Linked DNA regions of Homo sapiens: regions 1 and 2 are each linked to region 3. The links are contacts of gene promoters, found by promoter capture Hi-C in human tissues and cell types (Jung and others, 2019). All regions are on one chromosome and are shown on one strand. Each heading gives the region's core, a stretch centred on a gene start or on the middle of the fragment in contact. The rest is flanking DNA. Distances are from core to core; before and after follow the strand shown. Region 1 has its middle 20 kb from the start of MFAP3L. Region 2 has its middle 36 kb from the start of AADAT. Region 3 holds the start of AADAT (aminoadipate aminotransferase).

Region 1 (3,898 bases), core at 1,333-3,832, 43 kb before region 3:
TGTGTTCTTACTGTAATAGACTCAGTAAATATTTTGCAACTAAACATAAATTTACTATAATTACCAAGTGGAGTTTGTCATTTTAATTTTGAATAGTATGTACTACGGTTTGAGTATGCCCTCCAAAACTCATGTTGAAATTTAATTGCCATTGTGACAGGTTTTTTGTTTTGTTTTGTTTTAGCTTTTGTTTTTTTGAGATGGAGTTTTGCTCTTGTCACCCAGGCTGGAGTGCAATGGCCTGGTCTCAGCTCACTGCAACCTCTGCCTCCCAGGTCAAGCGATTCTCCTGTCTCAGCCTCCCAAGTAGCTGGGCTTACAGGTGCCTGCCACCACGCCCTACTAGTTTTTGTATTTGTAGTAGAGACGGGGTTTCACCATGTTGCTCATGCTGGTCTCGAACTCCTGACCTCAGGCAATCCACCTGCTTCGGCCTCCTAAAGTGCTGGGATTACAGGCATGAGTCACCATGCCCAGCCTATGACAGGTTTAATAGGTGGGACCATTAAGAGGTGTTTAGGCCATGAAAGCTCTGCCCTCATGAATAGATTAATGTTGTTATTGTAGGAGTGGGTTTGTTATAAAAGCAAGTTTGGCCCTCTCGTGCTCTCACCCCCTCTTGCCCTTCTGCCTTCTGCCATGGGATCATGCTGCACTAAAGTCTTCACCACATGTCAGCATCATGCACTTGGACTTCCAGGACTCCAGAACCATGAGCCAAATAAACTTCTTTTCCTTATAAATTACCTAGCTTGTGGCATTCTGTTATAGCAACACAAAATGGACTAAGTATGTGACATATGCTTTTAAATGTTATAAAAATTGCAACCATACATTAACCGTTCTAAAACATTGAAAGTAATATTTCTTTAGAGTGAATGAAAACTTATACATTTGAAAAAAATGAATGAGACTTCTGAGGTATGTAATATAAAATTATACAGGCCTGACATAGGAAGGCAAAATAAATTAAATATCTTAATTGGAAAATTGATATTTAACTGTATTTGCCCCCCTATGACTTAAGAGTAGTCTAGACATTATACTTTTCTATCTAGTGTGCTGAAATATGTCTTGATGGTAAATTCAAGTAATAGCTACACGTGTCTTGTATTTTTGCAGTTAGTTGAATGAACAGGTTTAGTTATCATTAGTCATAGAACTCCAGGCCACGGTATGATTAAATAATATTCAATTTATAATTCATTCTAAATATGAGTTTTATATTTAGATTCCTGTTGAGATATCACATAGAATAAAATAATTTAGCTCTCCCTCTCCCTCTCTCCCTCTCTCCCTCTCCCCACAGTCTCCCTCTCCCTCTCTTTCCACGGTCTCCCTCTGATGCCGAGCCGAAGCTGGACTGTACTGCTGCCATCTTGGCTCACTGCAACCTCCCTGCCTGATTCTCCTGCCTCAGCCTGCCGAGTGCCTGCGATTGCAGGCGCGCGCCACCACGCCTGACTGGTTTTCGTATTTTTTTGGTGGAGACGGGGTTTCGCTGTGTTGGCCGGGCTGGTCTCCAGCTCCTAACCGCGAGTGATCCGCCAGCCTCGGCCTCCCGAGGTGCCGGGATTGCAGACGGAGTCTCGTTCACTCAGTGCTCAATGGTGCCCAGGCTGGAGTGCAGTGTCGTGATCTCGGCTCACTACAACCTCCACCTCCCAGCCGCCTGCCTTGGTCTCCCAAAGTGCCGAGATTGCAGCCTCTGCCCGGCCGCCACCCAGTCTGGGAAGTGAGGAGCGTCTCTGCCTGGCCGCCCATCGACTGGGATGTGAGGAGCCCCTCTGCCTGGCTGCCCAGTCTGGAAAGTGAGGAGCGTCTCTGCCCAGCCGCCATCCCATCTAGGAAGTGAGGAGTGTCTCTGCCCGGCCGCCCATCGTCTGAGATGTGGGGAGCGCCTCTACCCTGCCGCCCGGTCCGGGATGTGAGGAGCATCTCTGCCCGGCCGCCCTGTCTGAGAAGTGAGGAGACCCTCTGCCTGGCAACCGCCCCATCTGAGAAGTGAGGAGCCCCTCCGCCCGGCAGCCGCCCTGTCTGAGAAGTGAGGAGCCCCTCCGCCCAGCAGCCACCCCGTCTGGGAAGTGAGGAGCGTCTCCGCCCGGCAGCCACCTCGTCCGGGAGGGAGGTGGGGGGGTCAGCCCCCCGCCCGGCCAGCCGCCCCGTCCGGGAGGGAGGTGGGGGGGGTCAGCCCCCCGCCCGGCCAGCCGCCCAGTCCGGGAGGTGAGGGGCGCCTCTGCCCGGCCGCCCCTACTGGGAAGTGAGGAGCCGCTCTGCCTGGCTGGCCGCCCCGTCCGGGAGGGAGGTGGGGGGGTCAGCCCCCTGCCCGGCCAGCCACCCCGTCCGGGAGGGAGGTGGGGGCGTCAGCCCCCCGCCCGACCAGCCGCACCGTCCGGGAGGTGAGGGGCGCCTCTGCCCGGCCGCCCCTACTGGGAAGTGAGGAGCCCCTCTGCCCGGCCAGCCACCCCGTCCGGGAGGGAGGTGGGGGGGGGGGGTCAGCCCCGTGCCCGGCCAGCCGCCCTGTCCGGGAGGTGAGGGGCGCCTCTGCCTGGCTGCCCCTACTGGGAAGTGAGGAGCCCCTCTTCCCGGCCACCACCCCGTCTGGGAGGTGTACCCAACAGCTCACTGAGAACGGGCCATGATGACAATGGCGGTTTTGTGGAATAGAAAGGGGGGAAAGGTGGGGAAATGATTGAGAAATCGGATGGTTGCCGTGTCTGTGTAGAAAGAGGTAGACATGGGAGACTTTTCATTTTGTTCTGTACTAAGAAAAATTCTTCTGCCTTGGGATCCTGTTGATCTGTGACCTTACCCCCAACCCTGTGCTCTCTGAAACATGTGCTGTATCCACTCAGGGTTGAATGGATTAAGGGCGGTGCAAGATGTGCTTTGTTAAACAGATGCTTGAAGGTAGCATGCTCGTTAAGAGTCATCACCACTCCCTAATCTCAAGTCCAGGGACACAAACACTGCGGAAGGCCGAAGGGTCCTCTGCCTAGGAAAACCAGAGACCTTTGTTCACTTGTTTATCTGCTGACCTTCCCTCCACTATTGTCCTGTGACCCTGCCAAATCCCCCTCTGCGAGAAACACCCAAGAATGATCAATAAAAAAATAAAATAAAATAAAATAAAATAAAATAAAAAAAGAGTTCCTCCTGCCTTGTCCTCCTAAAGTAGTTGGGATTACAGGTGTGAGCCACCGCACCTGCCCTAAATTTTTTTTAATTTGGTGTCCTGAGATAAGAAAATGTTTCACCATTTGTTAAAATTTTCTTTTGTATCATTTACAAAATTGTTCATTAATTTCTAATAGATACATTCAATGTTTTTTATACTGAGACAAAAAGGAATTTTGAATTTTTTGCAATAAATTGCATTTTAGTTGTGAATTTGGCATTTAAAAAATCCATTCTAATAAATTTTCAGTACAATTAAAAAAAAATAATTTACTGTAATTCTTTCTGCAAGCTTTTAAAGAAATTATATGAGGTAAGACTGCCGCCTGCTGGTCAAGATGTGTTGCTCATTTACATTTCAAACTTGTTTTTCACGATAGCATAGGATGTGATAAATCCAATTCAAAGCAATCCAACATACAGACTTTTGAGATGTCCTAGGTTGTCACAAATTATTGATGCTTGGACATTCTAACAATTATCATTCCCACAAGCCTTTCGTGTTTATCCTTCCCTCTTGATGACTGTTGATAACAAATCTCTGGCTGCATATTTCTGAGTCTTTGAAATGTACAACTTAGGGGCTAAGTTGCATTTATGCTCCTTTCTCTTGAGCAATGTGAGCTAAGCATCCATCTGTAGGTGAGAGATCTCTAAGTGTTGCTGAACCTGCTGCATAACTGCACTCCTCTACCTTATCTTTTTCTGACGACATCTCACA
Region 2 (3,652 bases), core at 870-3,369, 37 kb after region 3:
TTTACCCCCAAATATATTTATTTGATGTATTTTGAAATGGCTGCCTCTTGGCCATCCTATTAGAGGTGGCATTGCAAAACTATCTTAAGTGGGGAAAATTTGCATCTGCAGAGAATCTCCCTTAATGCAGCCATGCCTCCCTCCCCTTCCTATTCCTTTCCCTGGGTCCAGGAGAGACTGACAGTCTGACATCTTTTAAAGTCTGAAAGGAAACATTTACCATCTGTTTCCTCTGAAGGGGGCTTCCTCCACATAACAAGGCCATCTTTGCTAGCCAAACTTCTTCTTTTCTCTCTTAACACCTCTTGCCACTGAAGCTGATTTAGCTGTTTCTGGCAATCCTCTGAGTGTGCTTTCTTTACAGTGGCCTCAGGATGGTATGTAAGTGTCTGTAACTCATTGGGATGTTGGGTCTTCATTCTGAAGGCTCCCTTCTATATATTGTTAAATAAATTTGTATGCCCTTTCTTTCATTAATCAATCTGCCTCCTGTCAGTGATTTTTTAGCAGTCATTTAGGGGGCCAAGAACATTTGGCCCTCATGCCTTTTTAATTTATTTCCTTTCATTTTTCAGAATGAACTGCTTTCCTTAGTTCCTGGAACATCTGTGGTACTCCATAAATATTTCTAGGACAAGTAAGCACTTCAATTATTTTACACTGTTTGTGGCATTTGGGTTACATAGTGATATGGTTTGGATTTGTCCCCACCCACATCTCATCTTGAGTTGTAATTCACACAGTTCACACATGTCATAGGAGGAACCCAGTGGGAGGTGTTCGAATTATGGGTGCGGGTCTTTCTTGCACTGTTTTTGTGATAGTGAATGAGTTTCATGAGATCTGATGGTTTTAAAACACAAGTTTCTCTGCACAAGCTCTCTGTTGCCACCCATGTGAGATGTGACTTGCTCCTCCTTGCCTTCCACCATGATTGTGAGGCCTCCCCAGCTACATGAAACTGTGAGTCCAGTTAAACCTCTTTCTTTTGTAAATTGCCCAGCCTTGGGTATGTCTTCATCAGCAGTATGAAAGCAGAATAATATAATAAATTAGTACTAGAAGTGGGGTGCTGCTGAAAAGATATCCAAAAATGTGGAAGCAACTTTGGAATTGGGTAACAAGAAGAGGTTGGAACATTGTGGAGGGCTCAGAAGAAGAAAGGGAAATGTGGGAAAGTTTGTAACTCTCTAGAGACTTGTTGAATGGCTTTGGCTAAAATGCTGATAATGATATTGGCAATGAAATCCAGGCTGAGGTGGTCTCAGATGAGGAAGTTGGGAACTGGAGCAAAGGTGACTCTTGTTATGTTTTAGCAAAGAGACTGGCAGCATTTTCTCCTGCCCTAGGGATTTGTGAAACTTTGAACTTGAGAGAGAGGATTTAGGGTATCTAGTGGAAGAAACTTCTAACCAGAAAAACATTCAAGATGTGACTTGGGTGCTGTTAAAGGCATTCCGTTTTATAAGAGAAGCAGAGCAAAAAAGTTCAGAAATTTGCAGCCTGACAATGTGATTGAAAAGAAAATCCCATTTTATGAGGAGAAATTCAAGCTAGCTGCAGAAATTTGCATAAGTAATGAGGAGCTGAATGTTAATTACCAAAAGAATGGGGGAAATGTCTCCAGGGCATATCAGAGACCTTCATGGTAACCCATCCTATCACAGGCCCAGAGACCTAGGAGGAAAATGTGGTTTTGTGGGTTGGGCCCAAGCCCCCCATGCTGTGTGCAGCCTAGGGACCTGGTGCCCTGTGGCCTAGCCACTCCAGCCATGGCTGAAAGGGGCCAATGTAGAGTTTGGGCCATGGCTTCAGAGGGTGAAAGCCTCAAGCCTTGGCAGCTTCCATGTGGTGTTGAGCCTGCCAGTGCACAGAAGTCAAGAATTGGAGTTTGGGAACCTTTGCTTAGATTTCAGAGGATGTCTGGAAACACCTCGATGTCCAGGCAGAAGTTTGCTACAGGGGCAAGACTCTCATGGAGAGCCTCTGCTAGGGCTGTGTGTAATTTTGATCTGCCTCAGCTATGGGGAGACTCACCACCAGGGAGATTACCACCATCATAGCTACCATTAGATTACTCATGGTCAGCAGCTTGTTCTGAGACCTCAGTTTCTCTTCTGCAATGTGAGCTAGTCTCTTCATCTGCCCCCAGGTCAGTGGAGTTGCTTGGTGAGTTTTACTGGTTTCCATCTGCTCAACAGAGATGTTTATCTGAGCCATCAGATGAACTGGGGGTGCAGGGACATTCTGAGGTCTTTTCCTCTTCCTTGGATTCTGGCTCATGGAACAGCTTAAGATGTCTTGTGGTACCCAGACAGGAAGCTGATTCTCTCCTGGTGAGGTACAAGCAAACCCTCGACCCCATGTAATGATTTTGCCCTTTTCCCAGGTTTTAGTTCTGACGTCCTTCCACCACTCATGTTTTCCTTCATGAGGATTTATTTTTTGCCCTGTCAAATGCTGCTCTGCTGCCATTATAACCTGATCTCTAGACAAATCCAAAAAATTTAAAGTGATAATGTGTCTGGAATTGGTGGGTTCTTGGTCTTGCTGACTTCAAGAATGAAGCCGCAGACCCTCACGGTGAGTGTTACAGTTCTTAAAGATGGTGTGTCTGGAGTTTTTTCCTTCTGATGTTTGGAGGTGTCTGGAGTTTCTTCTTACTGGTGGGTTTGTGTTCTCGGTGACTTCAGGAGTGAAGCTGCAGACCTATGCGGTGAGTGTTATAGCTCTTAAAGTCTGCACGTCTGGAGTTGTTCATTCCTTCCAGTGGGTTCGGGGACTCACTGGCCTCAGGAGTGAAGCTGCAGACCTTCGCAGTGAGTGTTACAGTTCATAAAGGTGGCATGTCCGGAGTTGTTCGTTCCTCCCAACCAGAGTTGTTCATCCCTCCCAGTGGGTTCGTGGTCTCACTGGCTTCAGGAATGAAGCTGCAGACCTTTACAGTGAGTGTTACAGCTCATAAAGGCAGCACAGACCCAAAGAGTTAGCAGCAGCAAGATTGAATATGAAGAGCAAAACAACAAAGCTTCCACAGCATGGAACGGGACCCGAGTGGGTTGCCGCTGCTGGCTGGGGCAGCCTGCTGTTATTCCCTTATCTGACCTCAGCCACATCCTGCTGATTGGTCCATTTTACAGAGAGCTGATTGGTCCACTTTACAGAGAGCTGATTGGTCTGTTTTGACAGGGTGCTGATTGCTGCCTTTACAAACCTTTAGCTAGGCACAGAGTGCTGATTGGTGCATTAACAATCCCTTAGCTAGACAGAAAAGTTCGCCAAGTCCCCACTAGATTAGCTAGACATAGAGTGTTGATTGGGGTGTTTACAAACCTTTAGCTAGACACAGAGTGCTGGTTGGTGCATTTACAATCCTTTAGCTAGACAGAAAAGTTCTCTGAGTCCTCACCCGTCCGAGAAGCCCAGCCAGCTTCACCTCTCAGTGGCACTCGCCATGGGATTTAGCGGCACCTAGCCTGGGCACTCTGGCAGCCCAGAGGGAGCTCATCCCCAGATCAAGCCCAGCAGGCGCCAGCTGGCTGTGCTGAGTGTGGGGCCTGCCGAGCCCATGCCCACCTGGAACCCACACCAGCCTGTGAACGCGGCACACAGCTCTGGCTCCTGCCCATGCCTTTCCCTCCACACCTCCCCG
Region 3 (4,001 bases), core at 380-2,879:
TATCAATGGGCCTTAGAATATTTCTTATGAAAATAAGCCAATAAAATTATGTTAAGTATTGATACTTACCCAGCACTCGGAGAATACTGAAGTGCTCTCTTCATCATCTCTTCTCCAAATTGGATGGTCTTTCCATTTTCTACAGTGATTACGGCAGTCTTAAAAGGAAACATGTTTGGATTTGGTAAGCCACCAGCCAAGGAGATCATCGATTTTGGTCCTCTGCTCAATATGTCAGCTACAATACACATGGAAGAGAAGAAACAATTTCATTGAAGATTGTTATAAGCGGATAGTTAAGCATGCATTATAGTCAATAAAACTATAAAGTTTAACGATTTCTAGTGATAGAGTGTGCTATGGTCTAAATGTTGGTGCTCCCCCAGATTCATACTTGGAAGTTAATACTAATGTGATAGTTTTAACAGGTGGGGTCTCTAGAGGTGATTAGGTCAGGAGGGATCCACCCTCCTGAATGGGATTGGTGCACTTATAAAAGAGGGCTGAGGGAATGCCCTTGGCCCTTCTGCCACGTGAGGACATAGGTTCTCCCTTCTACCACGTGAGGATGCAGCAAGATGGCTCTGTCTATAAGGAAGGGCTCTCACCATGGTGACACAGAAGCTGCTGGCACTTTGATCTTAGACTTCCTAGCTTCCAGAACTGTGAGAAATAATTCTATTGTTCATAAATTACCCAGTTTGTGGTATTTTGTTATAGCAGCCTGAATGGACTAAGACAAAAGCTAGTCTAAAATAAACATACAGAATAACTTTTTCTAGGCACCTCACTTGTGGAGGGACTAAAGAATGAAGGTGACCAAAGAGAAGGCAGAGGGATCAGAAAGACAGCAAAGGGCCACAATAGCAGAAGCCCTCCTCCACTTAGCCCCGACCTGTCTGTGAGCTTCATGGCCCACCCCTCTCCCATTTACCTGGCCCTCTCCACTGTACACCCATCTGCACGCTGTGCATGCCCCTTCTCAGCTTCCCAGGAAGAGCCTTTCTTGATAGCACGCCCCCTCCCTTCCAAGGCCGTGCCCCACAGCAGTCTGCGCCTCTCTCTACTGTTGCTCCTACTCTGCTCCAGCAGAAATACCCGCCTTCCGTTTCAGCCCGAGTTCTTTGAGAACAAAGGCTGTGTCTATTTCATTTCTGCACGCAGAGCCTGGCTCACCGCGAGCGTGCACAGGGGTACGCATGGATGCAACCAAGCGGTGGCTTGCTAGGGAACCCTCCTTAGAGGCTGTGCGAGGAATGCCCCACCCCAAAGGAGAGATGGTCACCCCGTTTCTCACTCATGGTCCGGATGGGAGAAGGGTTTCTGGCTGCGCTCGCTGCCGTGATGAACCGTGCGTAATTCATGTCTTCTGACAGCCAAGCATCAAGCTTCTTCTTCAGTGGTTGAGGACTAGAAAAACCAAAGAGCCTCGTCAAGTCCTGCCTGCTAACTCCTCACTCTGGCAACGCCACCGCGAGATGTGTCCCCCCGCTGCGTCTGGCTTCCCGCGCGCGGTGCCCGGAGAACGCCGCCGAAACTCCCCGGCTGGACGCTGCGTTCGGTCTCCCGGTCCTAAACGGGTCTGGGGCTGTGTGGCGAGCCCGGCAAAGTCCACGCCGCACGCGCTCCTGCGGCCGCCAGGGCCCAGGCCGGTTTTGCCCCGCCGCGGGCCTCGCCGCGCCCCCTCCCGCCCCGCGCCGTGGCCTATGGCCGCCCGCGGCGCGCGCCTCCCCGTCCCGGATCATCGCCCTCAGAGCGCAGGGCGCGGGGTAGCCCAGGCGCGAGGCGCTTGCAGCCCCAGGCCAATGACTCTTGACCTCGCCGCTGGGAATCACCGCAACCCGGCGTCCGCGTTGGCCGGCCTAGGCGCCGGCCCAGAGGCTAGCCCAGGGGCTGACCGAGGGGACCGGAAGTGCCCGTGATCCTAATCCTCGGGAACCATCTGGCGGCGACTTGGGTCCACTGCAGGGGGCTCCCGAGCTGCGCCCAGCCGGGAGCGGCCCCACCCTCGTTCCCGCGCGCTCCGCTGGCCTCCTCTCAGTCACTGGGACTGTGCATTTTGCCCGCTCAGACCATGGCTATGCTAAATACCCATCTTTCGTTAGTGAAACTCTGGGCACTCTCCTGGGAAGCATCCCGGCGACCAAGACGAATTTCAACATCACTTTCTCGAAGATCTCAGCATTTTGGAGTGACGATGGAGTTCTGACAAAAATTTTTGAAAAATCACTCTGAGTCTCTTCAATTTTAGTGTCTACCCTCACATTGAATTTCTGACCTTTCGTTAAATAAGAATTATGTTGGAAGTGAATATCCGGATCTTTTTGGGTCTAGCACCTTGCCTTTTTTTTTCTTACAAAATAACCCTTCTTACTCCCCACCTCCCTCAACTTTTCTGCAATTTCTCCTTCCTGAATCACCAAAATGGAATGTACAAGGTTTAATGTGAGCACTTAATGAGGGAAGGGTTTCAGACAACCTCTCTTTGACTTTAAAAAATTCTTTAATGGTTATTAAAATGAATGAACAGATTCATTCATTCAGCACAAATTTACTGAGTACTTCCTAGATGATTATTGACTCACTGCCAAATGGCTCTCTTTTAAGTTTACCTAATAGGTTGGTCAAGGAGCCACTGCTTTTATCTAGGTCCTGGCAGCAAAAGGCTGAGATAACCCAGTAAAATCTTTGTGCTAGCAGCTAAATAACAAAAAGGAAGTATTGAGAGGTGACAGCCTGCTGGCAGCCCTCGCAGCCCTCGCTCACTCTTGGCGCCTCCTCGGCCTCAGCGCTCACTCTGACCGCGCTTGAGGGGCCCTTCAGCCCGCCGCTGCACTGTGGGAGCCCCTTCCTGGGATAGCGGAGGCCGGAGCCGGCTCCCTCAGCCTGCGGGGAGGTGTGTAGGGAGAGGCACGGGCGGGAACCAGGGCTGTGCGGGCGCTTGCGAGCCAGCTAGAGTTCCGGGTGGGCGTGGGCTTGGCGGGCCGGCACTCAGAGCGGCGGGCCGGCTCCGCCAGACCCGGGTAGTGAGGGGCTTAGCACCCGGGCCAGCAGCTGCGGAGGGTGTGCCCAGTCTCCCAGCAATGCCGGCTCACCGGCGCTACCTTCGAATTCTCGCCAGGCCTCAGCTGCCTCCCAGCGGGGTGGGACTCGGACCCGCAGCCAGCCATGCCTGAGCCTCCCCACCACCCACCCGTGGGCTCCTGCGCTGCCCGAGCCTCCCTGACGAGTGCCGCCCCCTGCTCCACAGCACCCGGTCCCATTTACCGCCCAAGGGCTGAGGAGTGCGGGCTCACAGCCCGGGACTGGCAGGCAGCTCCACCTGTGGCCCCAGTGCCGGCTCCACTGGGGGAAGCCAGCTGGGCTCCTGAGTCTAGAGGAGACTTGGAGAACCTTTATGTCTAGCTAAGGGATTGTGAACACACCAATCAGCACCCTGTGTCTAGCTCAGGGTTTGTGGATGCACCAATGGGCACTCTGTATCTAGCTAATCTGATGGGGACTTGGAGAATCTTTATGTCTAGCTAAGGGATTGTGAATACACCAATCAGCACTCTGTATCTAACTCATGGTTTGTAAATGCACCAATCAACACTCTGTATCTAGCTCAGGGTTTGTAAATACACCAATTAGCACTCTGTATCTAACTAATCTAGTGGGGACTTGGAGAACTTTTGTGTGTAGCTCAGGGATTGTAAACGCACCAATCAGCACCCTGTCAAAATGGACCAATCAGCTCTGAAAAACAGGCCAATTGGCTCTCTGTAAAATGGACCAATCAGCAGGATGTGGATGGGGCCAGATAAGAGAATAAAAGCAGGCTGCCTCAGCCACCAGCGGTAACCCGCTTGGATACTTTTGCAGCGTGTGGTGGTTTTGTTTTCTCGCAGTTTGCAATAAATCTTGCTGCTGCTGACTCTTTGGGTCCACATTGCTTTTATGAGTTGTAACACTCACCGCGAAGGTGTGCAGTTTCTCTCCTGAGGCCGTGGAGACCACGC

What was found. The method cuts DNA at HindIII sites, captures the fragments that hold promoters and counts their contacts. A contact is called where the count stands out against the background at its distance.
Region 1: a contact is called between a fragment that was not itself captured here and the fragment with the promoter of AADAT in region 3, in 1 of the 25 tissues and cell types used here (hippocampus).
Region 2: a contact is called between a fragment that was not itself captured here and the fragment with the promoter of AADAT in region 3, in 2 of the 25 tissues and cell types used here (mesendoderm cells and pancreas).

What each region holds. Positions count from the first base shown.
Region 1 is chr4:170,044,453-170,048,350 of GRCh38, forward strand. No RefSeq gene overlaps it. Among named protein-coding and RNA genes, the nearest start is that of MFAP3L, 20 kb to the left of the region's middle. RefSeq lists an enhancer at 1,013-1,552. The HindIII fragment of the contact is 3,764 bases long and covers 701-3,898 here.
Region 2 is chr4:170,124,347-170,127,998 of GRCh38, forward strand. No RefSeq gene overlaps it. Among named protein-coding and RNA genes, the nearest start is that of AADAT, 36 kb to the left of the region's middle. The HindIII fragment of the contact is 6,977 bases long and covers 1-3,652 here.
Region 3 is chr4:170,088,327-170,092,327 of GRCh38, forward strand. AADAT (aminoadipate aminotransferase) reads right to left here and starts at 1,630. Exons shown (of 13, transcript NM_016228.4): 1 at 1,298-1,630; 2 at 70-238. The coding sequence starts at 1,364. RefSeq lists a silencer at 852-1,146 and an enhancer at 3,046-3,740. The HindIII fragment of the contact is 6,677 bases long and covers 529-4,001 here.